Regions from separate parts of the Homo sapiens genome. Here region 2 is linked to region 1. Evidence: promoter capture Hi-C in 16 types of primary human blood cells and fetal thymus (Javierre and others, 2016). All regions are on one chromosome and are shown on one strand. The core of a region is centred on a gene start or on the middle of the fragment in contact, and the rest is flanking DNA. Distances in the headings are between cores, read along the strand shown.

Region 1 (5,250 bases), core at 1,963-4,462:
TGGAAGGATTGCTTGAGGCCAGGAGTTCAAGACTAGTGTGAGCAACATAGCAAGAGTCCCATTATCGATTTTAAAAAATAAAATAACATGAGATAGTACTGTGTAGAAACTATTAAAATGTAAGTGCTGTCTGGGTACGGGAGCTCACGCCTATAATCCCAGCACTTTGAGAGGCTGAGGTGGGCTTGAGCTCAAGAGTTTGAGACCAGCCTGTGCAACATGGCGGCAAAACCCCTTCTCTACAAAAAATACAAAAATTAGCTGGGCATGGTGGTGTGTGCCTGTAGTCCCAGCTACTCTGGAGGCTGAGGTGGGAGGATGGCTTGAGCCTAGGAGGTGGAGGTTGCAGTAAACCAAGATCATGCTACTGCACGCCAGCCTGGGGGACAGAGCCAGATACTGTCTCAAAAAAAAAAAAAAAAAAAAAAAAGTAAGTGTTTTTCTGTTCTACAGAGATGCAAATGATTCCTATCTGGTCAGATAAATTACCTCAAAGGTTATAGTTTTGCTGCCCTGTAGCACATTAGCCAGTTTAGTATCTAACTTTGTGATCTTACGTCAGCATTCCTTTTCGTTCTCTGAGTACACAAAATCTTTATTCTCGTAATATCTTTGAACCAGTGTTGCCACCTTGCAAAGTCCCTTATGAATGAGTTACCTACCTCACCGATACATACTCACCATATCTTGTCAAGGCTTCATATTCCTTTCCCTGTATAGTCCCCACAAATATACACTGTCAGCTTTCAATGCACACCAAGCGCCCATTATTGATTCTTTGTCCCGAGTGGCTCCTCTGGAGCATATGCGTAACATCAGGGGGACATAGGGCTTTTAATTGTCAAAAGTATACAAACTCAGCACGTTATTCCAAATAATCTCTGCCCCTGCTCCCTCACATTTTGATCATGCCGTATCTGTGATCTGGGGCTGGGGACTCTGGCCCTCAAGATGCCTCCAATGCTCTCGGCCCCTGCTAAGAGCCTCTGCCCACACACGGGGTCATGCGCATAACCTTAGAACTCTGGGCACGGCTAGATGAACTGTGGCACGCACCTGATCTAGGCAGCAGCCCACTTCCCAGTTGGTCAGCCAGTGAAGGAAGGCTCAGCCCCACCAGGCCAGTGAGATTCTCCGTCTTGGCAAATTGCTTAAAGACTTGATAGTAAAGGAGAAAGAGATAAAGCAGGCACCTGAGGCCCCGAAGCAGCAGACACTTAAATAAGCAGCAGGAAGAAGGTCCTGGCAGAGACAGAACACCTGAGTTTTCCACATGGCACACGGACCTTGGAGGCACAGAGGGATGGGCCCCGCTACTGAGTGGCAAGAAGACGAAATGTCTGTGTCGTAGAACTGTGTGTGATCTTGAAAGACCTCTCGGTTCGTGAATGGCATCTTGGGTTCTGTCAGGCTCCACACAGGTTCTACTGCTCCTCTTCCTCCAACAGGCTGAGCTGTGTGACTTTTCCAGGGTTGCCATCCGACCTGTCATTTGGTCTGTGGCCCTTAGTTTCTTATCCACATGTGGCTGTAAAAGAAACTCCACAATCCTGGAGGGAACTCAGTGGGTCCCTACTTCCAATCCAAAAACCTCGACTCACTCTTTTACTTTTTCTAATAACTTAATAAGTTAAATAATAATAAAAGAATTGTTACCGTTGTTCAGCCAACTCTTTCCGGGCTCATCAACGATTTTCTAGGAAAGAAGGTTTCCTTGGTTAGACCTGCACTTCCTCTCTGTCTCTCTCCATTCATGTTTGAGCATTCATTCATTCTCCCCACAAGCACATCATGGATTCTAAAATGAAGAAGGCAATATTCGTACTTTGAAGATGCTCACATCTTGCATGTGCAGTGTTACAAGAGTGGGGTTGGTGCAGGAGTGAAATGGGAGGCCGTGTCCCGAGATGGGGTCACCAGAACCTGGAGTGACAAGGTGGAGGTGGGGAGAGGAGCTTTTCCTCCTGGCTTTCCCACAAACACTGACTTCCATGCCTCTGGCCTGGAACCACATGTAACCAAAGCCATATGTTCAACTTGCGTTAATTAAATGGTGGCCTCAGCAACATTTCTGGTGCTGCTTCTGTTGCTTTGGCATTATGATGTCTTCAATATTTGTTACTGTGTGTCGTTTGTCATGTTTAACCCAGTGGCTCAGATTCTATTTGTTTGTAAAACTTAAATGTTGAGAGACTTCTGTTCTTGATTTTTTAGAAAATAAAAATTATTTTTGGTTTATTCCATGAGAACATATCTTCTATAGGTTGAACCTCCAAGGTTCTTCCTTCTTGATTTTTCTGGGAGATGACTGTAATTTTTTTTTTTTTTTGAGACGGAGTTTCGTTGCTGTTGCCCAGGCTGCTGGAGTGCAATGGTGCAATCTCAGCTCACCGCAACCTCCGCCTCCCGGGTTCAAGGAATTCTCCTGCCTCAGCCTCCCAAGTAGCCGGGACTACAAATGCGTGCCACCACGCCCAGCTAATTTTTGTATTTTTAGTAGAGATGGGGTTTCACCATGTTGGTTAAGCTGGTCTTGATCCACCTGCCTCAGCCTCCCAAAGTGCTGAGATTATAGGCGTAAGCCACTGTGCCTGGTGTAATCTTAACTGCTTTTTAGGAAATGGTGTAAGAAAAGGCTGTGCCATAAACTCAAAATCCTACTAATCCCCAGTTCTCAGCCCCAAACCGAAGAAAGATTACATTTCCAGTCCAGTTTCTAATCCCAAGTATCCATGCACCCAGGATGGCGGGAAAAGGGAAAAGGCGGTACCTTAAATGAGGGAAGGACATCTCAGTCTTGGCCAGTTCTTACTCTTCCCAGGGGCCACCCTCAAGCCCCACCCTGAGCAGGTAAGTGAGGCAGGCAGGCAGCCTGGGAGCATGTGTGGGAGGGAATCCAACGGTGTTCTCCAGGCTGCAAGAGCTGGGCAGACACAATCGTGCTGCAGCCCTGGCCTGTGTTTTTCTTTCCCACAAAGACCAACACCGGTGCTGCTGACATCATGACAGGTTTGATCATTTTTATTTTGCGGTGAGCGTGGTGTCATGGTGATGAAGAGTCCTGTGAGCTTGTGCAGGTCCCCTCAACTGCAGGCTGTCCAGGCTTCCTCCTCTACAGTAAAGACAAGGAGAATGGCTGCTTCCTAAGGTGATGGCGAGGTAGGATGAGGAGTGTAAACGGCCCACCCTGCTCCCAGTGGTAACTATGGGTATGATTTCCTTTTGGGAGAAGACAGAGATTGCCCTTCTGATCCTCCCAGCTGTAAATTTGGGCTGGGGCAACTTTTAGACACAAACAGGGCACTCCTGGCTACAGGGCCTCAATGTTTTCCTTGAGGTGGAGTATCTAGGCATTTCCCTGAGGTTTCTGATGCCTGGGCAGGGTGGGGTGGGGTGTGGCTGGTTCTGACAGCTGTTCCCCACCCAGCTTTGTGCCCTGGGGAGGGAGATCTACCTGCACATCCCGCTGCACTGGATCTGCAGGGAGCTGGGGCTGCCCTTGGACGCCTCAGGCACAGGCCCTCATCCTCTGCCTAACTGCTTTTTACACCCATCCCTTGAGTCCAGGGAGATTTTGCCACAATTTCAAAAAAGAAATGATTATTCAGAAGGCATTCTTCTATATATTTCCTTTTTTTTTTTTTTTGAGATGGAGTTTCGCTCTGTCACCAGGCTGGAGTGCAGTGGCATGATCGGCTCACTGCAACCTCCGCCTCATGGGTTCAAGCGATTCTCCTGCCTCAGCCTCCCGAGTAGCTGGGACTACAGGTGCATGCCACCACGCCCAGCTAATATTTTAATTTTTAGTAGAGATGGGGTTTCACCATGTTGGCCAGGATGGTCTTAATCTCTTGACCTCGTGATCTGCCCGCCTCAGCCTCCCAAAGTGCTGGGATTACAGGCATGAGCCACCGTGCCTGGCCACATTTCTGTATATCTTGCAAGCAGACACACTGTCTGTCTTTTATTTGATCATCTTTCCAAGGATGCTGGTATAGCATGTATGCTTGGAAAATAGAGATGCTGTTTCTCCAGAGAAAGGGGGAGCTTGCTTGCATTCTTCTATGTAGTTCTAAGGCCCCTGCTCCACTGTACAGCAAGTGGCCACACCCTTAGTGTCTTCCTTGCCTAACCCAGACCCTTACAGCACTCAGCTTGGAAAAGACCCTTGCAGCGCTCAGTTGGGTGCCATGATTATGCCTGTAATCCCAGCACTTAGGGAGGCCAAGGTGGGTGGGTCACTTGAGCCTGGGAGTTTGAGACCAGCCTGGGCACCATGGCAAAACGCCATCTCTAAAAAAAAAAAAAAAAAAAACCACAAAAATTAGCCAGGCATGAGGATGCACCTGTAGTCCCAGCTACTGGGGAGGTTGCTGCAGTGGGAGGATTGCCTGAACCCAGGGAGGTTGAGGCTGCAGTGGGCTGTGATTGTGCCACTGCACTCTATCTTGGGTGACAGAGTGAGACCCTGTCTCAAACGAAAACAAAATTTCAAAAAAAAAAAAAAGAATGCATTCTTGCCCTTAGAGGCTCCATCCTCACCTCCCTCTTCTGGTTTCTCTTCCTCTGTCTCTGCTGTGTGTGTCTTTAATAAAGAACACTGAAATTAGTGAGCCAGGTTTGCCTCCTGGGCAGGAATTATGAAATCCAGGTGGCCTTGGTTGTAATAGGGGGAAAAAAAAACCTTTATTTTGTCTGCTTAGTGTTGTCCTGGCTTTTCTTTGCATATTCCGTCCCCCTACCCCCAAACTCACTGTGCTGTTCTGGTGAGGCTGACCCCACCCAGATTCAGGACTGACCCAGGCCTGGCCAATCAACAAGGCCTTCAGGGACTGGTACGTGTCAGTTAAATGAGTCAGTCCCAGGACGCTTTGTATATATATGTATGTAATATTTGTAACTATTGGGAAAGTGTCTAGCTTTCCACAGGAACTTCTAACCTGTTCCAGTGTGACCCTAAGGATGCCGGTAGCCATCTTGCCACTCTCGGGAGAGGAAGAGCCACAGAGACAAGGCAACTCTGAGAGCTGAGTCCTGATGACCGGTCGAAGCACCCGAATTCAGCAGTATGTGAAGCCCCTGAACTTCCAGTTATATGTGCTGATGAATTATCTTTTTTGCTGAAGTCCATTTGAATTGGAGTTTATATCATTTGCAATTTAAAGAGAACTGATCACCAGCTGGCTCAAGTCTGAAGTATAAACTGGTTTCTAGCAATCAAAAGCAATGTGTGACCAGCACAGTGGCTCC
Region 2 (5,083 bases), core at 959-3,458, 160 kb before region 1:
ATCTAAATATAGAAAAAGTACAGTAAAAATATGGTATTACAACAACAGTTCCAGGCCGGGCGCAGTGGCTCATGCCTGTGATCCCAGCATTTTGGGAGGCCAAGGCGAGCAGATCACCTGAGGTCAGGAGTTTGAGAACAGTCTGGCCAATATGGTGAAACCCCATCTCTACTAAAAATACAAAAATTAGCTGGGCATGGTAGTACATGCCAGTAATACCAGCTACTCAGGAGGCTGAGGCACTAGGATTGCTTGAACCCGGGAGGCAGAGGTTGCAGTGAGCTGAGATCACACCCTTGCACTGCAGCCTGGGCAACAAAGTGAGACTCTGTATCAAAAAAAAAAAACCAAAACAAAACAAAAAAAAAACCGCAGTCCCCAGCCTTTGGCACCAGGGACCAGTTTCATGGAAGACAATTTTTCCATGGATGGGGGGTGCAGGGGTATGGTTTCCGGATGAAACTGTTCCACCTCAGATCATCAGGCATTAGATTCTCGCAAGAAGCATGCAACCTAGATCCCTTGCATGCACAGTTCACAATAGGGTTCACGCTCCTATAAGAATCTAATGCCACCACTGATCTGACAGGAGGCAGAGCTCAGGTGAGTAATGCTCACTCGCATACTGCTCACCTCCTGCCGTGTGGCCTGGTTCCACAGACCAGTTCCAGTCTGCGGCACAGGGGTTGAAGATCCCTGGTATAAAAGATTAAAAATGGAACACCTGTATAGGGCACTTACCATGAATGGAGCATGCAGGACTGAAAACTGCTCTGGGTGAGTGACAGTGAGTAAATGTGAAGGCCTGGGACATTACTGCATACTACTGTAGACTTGATAAATACTGCACACTTGGGCTACACTAAATTTGTTTTTTATTTTTTAATTTTTAAAAAAATTATGCTTACCTCAGACCAGATTAAATTTATGTATTTATTTATTTATATACATACACACGCACGCGCACGCGCGCGCACACACACACACACACACACACACACATATATTTTTTTTTTCCTTTTTGAGACTGAATCTCACTCTGTCACCTGAGCTGGAGTACAATGGCATGATCTCAGCTCACTGCAACCACTGCCTCCCAGGTTCAAGTGATTCTCCTGCCTCAGCCTCCCGAGTAGCTGGGACTACAGGCACGCACCACCACACCAGGCTAATTTTTGTATTTTTAGTAGAGATGCAGTTTTGCCACATTGGGCAGGCTGGTCTCAAACTCCTGACCTCAGGTGATCCACTCGCCTTGGCCTCCCAAAGTGCTGGGATTACAGGTGTGAGCCACCACACCTGGCCCAGATTAAGTTAGTTAGTTAGTTAGTTAGTTAGTTTATTTTTGAGACAAAGTCTTGCTCCGTTGCCCAGGCTGGAGCACAGTGACACAATCTGAGCTCACTGGAACCTCTGCCTCCCAGGTTCAAGTGATTCTCCTGCCTCAGCCTCCCGAGTAGCTGGGATTATAGGTGCCCGCCACCACGCCCAGCTAATTTTTGTATTTTTTAATAGAGACGGGGTTTTGCCATGTTGGCCAGGCTGGTCTTGAACTCCTGACCCCAGGTGATCTGACCCCAGGTGATCCGCCCTCCTCGGCCTCCCAAAATGCTAGGATTACAGGTGTGAGCCACTGTGCCCGGCCTGAGTCATTGCGCTCAGCCAAATTTATTTTTAAGATGTTTTTCTTTCTTCAATAATAAATTAACCTTTGCTTCCTGGAACTTTTTTACTTTATAAACTTTAAACTTTTTAGCTTTTTGACTCTTGTAATAACACTTAGCTTAAAACACATATCGTACAGCTGTACAATACTTTCTTTCTTTAGATCCATATTCTCTAAGCTTTTTTTCCATTTTAAATTGTTTTGTTTTTACTTTTAATGTTTTTGTTAAAAACTAACACACAAACTCACACACCAGCCTAGGCCTACACAGAGTCAGGATCAAGATGTCACTAAGCAGTAAGAATTTATTAGATCCATTACAATGTTACAGGACCAACGTTTATATGCAGTCTGTTGTTGACTGAAACATCACTATACATACAGCGCATCAGTGCATGACCGTATTTGACTATTTTCTGGTTGCATATTAGTCCTGAAATGTCAAGTACCAAATAATTTACTTCTCAGATCTTCATCTCCTACATTCATAAGGCTATTCTAAATGGCTAAAGTCTGCCTAAACTCAGACCTACAGATAAAATGAAGGTTATTACTGGAAAATTTTATTTTATTTGTGTGGCACCCATTTCCTAGGGTAGTAACAACCTTTGACACAGAAAAAAAATGTTCCCCCACTCATGTTATATAGCACTATTACAAAATGATTAATAAGAAATTTTCCTTCACCATATCCCACAAATTTAACTTACCCTATCATAGAGCTCAATGATTAAATGGTAAGCAGCTTCATCACTTCCAAATTGAAAATCTACAATTCTATCCACACCAAGCTGTTTTGCACTGACTAATCTCCGACTCTTCAAATGTTTTCGGCACTAGCAAGAGAAAGAAAAAGGCATTCATTTAGTAAAAGTGAATTCCTAACCATTTGGTATTGGTTTATAAATAAGCTTCTTTTCATTATCATCAGGAATATTTAAAACGTTGTGAATAACAGTATAGTCATAAAGTAATAGATTGCAGATGATAATCAGAGGGAAAACATTTTATTATAAACACTAACTCTGAAACAGTGTTTTATTTGCATTTTTTTAAGACAGGGTCTCACTCTGTCACCCAAACTGGAGCCCAGTGGTGTGATCATGGCTCGCTGCAGCCTCGACTTCCCTGGCTCAGGTGATCCTCCTGCATCAGCCTCCTGAGGATTGGGACCACAGGCACATGCCACTATCCCCAGCTAATTTTTTCATTATTTGTAGAGACAGGGTCTCACTATGTTGCCCAGGCTAATCTCAAACTCCTGGGCACAAGCAATCCTCCTGCCTTGGCCTCCCAAAGTGCTGGGATTACAAGCGTAAGCTACTGAGCCAGGCTTTTATTTTCAATTTTTAAGTAGAGAATGATGGACCTATAGCAAAATTTGCTTTGTTGCTTTATACCACTGCTAAATTCCTTGTTGTGGTCCTAATGACCTCACTCATAAGCCACAACCTTTATTTATTTACTTTATTTTGAGAGAGAGTCTCGCTCTGTCGCCCAGACTGGAATGCAGTGGCACAGTCTCAGCTCACTGCAACCTCCGCCTCCCAGGTTCAAGTGATTCTCCTGCCTCAGCCTCCTGAGTAGCTGAAATTACAGGCGTGTGCCACCACACCCGGCTAATTTTTCTATTTTTAGTAGAGACGGGGTTTCACCATGTTGGTCAGGCTGGTCTCGAAGTTCTGACCTCGTGATCCGCCCACCTCAGCCTCCCAAAGTGCTGGGATTACAGGCATGAGCCACTGTGCCCAGCCAACCTTTACTTATTTATTTATTTATTTATTTATTTGGAGACGGAGTCTCACTTTGTCACCCAGGCTGGAGTACAGTAGCACAATCTTGGCTCACTGCAACTTCTGCCTCCCAGGTTCAAGCAATCCTCCTGCCTCACCCTCCCAAGAGTAGCTGGGACTACAGGCGCCCACTACCACGCCTGGCTAATTTTTTGTATTTTAGTAGAGACGGGGTTTCTCCACGTTGCCCAGGCTGGTCTCGAACTCCTGAGCTCAGGCAATCTGCCCACCTCGGCCTCCCAAAGTGTTAGGATTACAGGCGTGAGCCACCACACCCAGTCCCTTTATTTTTTTTAAGTCTCTTTGATGACACTTCTAAGTATGCCAAATTTCCCTTTTGTATGCTTCATTTATGTTCAAAATTAATTAATTGTTTCCACTAATCTTCTACTTCTAATACATATCAACTATGGACCATGAGCTTATGGCTTATGGTATCCTGTAAATAGTCCACCACCTTATATCCAGTTACCCCTACCAATTCTTTTTTTTTTTTTTTTTTTTTTTTTTTTCTTTAAGAGAGTCTTTGCCAGGAGCGGTGGCTCAGGCCTGTAATCCCAACACTTTGGGAGGCCGAGGTAGGTGGATCACTTGAGGTCAGGAGTTCAAGACCAGCCTGGCCAATATGGTGAAACCCCATCTCTACTAAAAATACAAAAATTAGCTGGGCGTGCTGGCGCATGCCTGTAATCCCAGCTACTCAGGAGGCTGAGGCAAAAGAATCGCTTGAACCCAAGAGGCGGAGGTTACAGTGAGCCGAGATGACACTACTGCAATCCAGCCTGGGCAACAGAGCAAGACTCTGTCTCAAAAAAAAAAAAAAAAAAGAAAGGGACAGAGTCTCTCTGTTGCCCAGGCAAGGCTCAAACTCCTGGACTCAAGCAATCTCCCACCTTAGCCTCCCAAGTAGCTAGGATTACAAGTGCCCTGCCACTGTGCCCAGCTTATTCCTACAAACTTTACTAATATAACCCAAAGAGAATTTTCCTGGTATCGTCTCTAAGCTTTTGATAACCTATTTCAATCCAATGTAATAACTCTCATTCTTTATTAAATCCCCTTCCTCCTATCCCTGGCCATAAGGTTCTTTTTCTTATTAACAATTAAAATAATATTAGTATATCAAATCCAAATACAATTTACTTGGCAATACCTACTCTTTTAGATTACATGTACCGTCTTTTTGTACAAATATTGAAGTATGACATGGACTGGTAACAAGACTACTCTGTAGCCTCTAAAATATCTTACAATTGTTTCTAATTTTTTAATATAAAAGACCCTTTAGTTAAGACCAATAAGAAAGAATGCTTTCTTCAAGACTCAAATACGGTCTGGGTATGGCAGCTCACGCCTGTAATCCCAGCACTCTGGGAGGCCGAGGCAGGCGGATCACAACGTCAGGAGTTCAAGACCAGCCTGGCCAACATGGTGAAACCCCATCTCTACTAAAAATACAAAAATTAGCCAGGCATGGTGGCGTGTGCCTGTAATCCCAGCTACTTGGGAGGCTGAGACACGAGAATCACTTGAACCCAGGAGACTGAAGTTGCAGTGAGCCAAGACTGCGCCACTGCCCTCCAGCCTGGTGACAGAGCAAGACTCCGTCTCAAAAAAAAAAAAA

Evidence for each region. Contacts are between HindIII fragments. The CHiCAGO score rates a contact against its expected background, and 5 or more counts as called.
Region 2: a contact is called between a fragment that was not itself captured here and the fragment with the promoter of LINC01588 in region 1, in 8 of 17 cell types (activated CD4 T cells, naive CD8 T cells, total CD4 T cells and 5 more). The highest score is 10.1, in activated CD4 T cells.

Annotation. Positions count from the first base shown.
Region 1 is chr14:50,004,308-50,009,557 of GRCh38, forward strand. LINC01588 (long intergenic non-protein coding RNA 1588) reads right to left here and starts at 3,213. Exons shown (of 4, transcript NR_126498.1): 1 at 1,287-3,213. It overlaps LINC01599 (long intergenic non-protein coding RNA 1599), which reads right to left. Exons shown (of 9, transcript NR_131171.1): 9 at 3,006-3,112. RefSeq lists an enhancer at 5,051-5,250. The HindIII fragment of the contact is 14,705 bases long and covers 1-5,250 here.
Region 2 is chr14:49,843,764-49,848,846 of GRCh38, forward strand. It overlaps NEMF (nuclear export mediator factor), which reads right to left. Exons shown (of 33, transcript NM_004713.6): 4 at 2,377-2,502. Among named protein-coding and RNA genes, the nearest start is that of NEMF, 6.5 kb to the right of the region's middle. The HindIII fragment of the contact is 733 bases long and covers 1,843-2,575 here.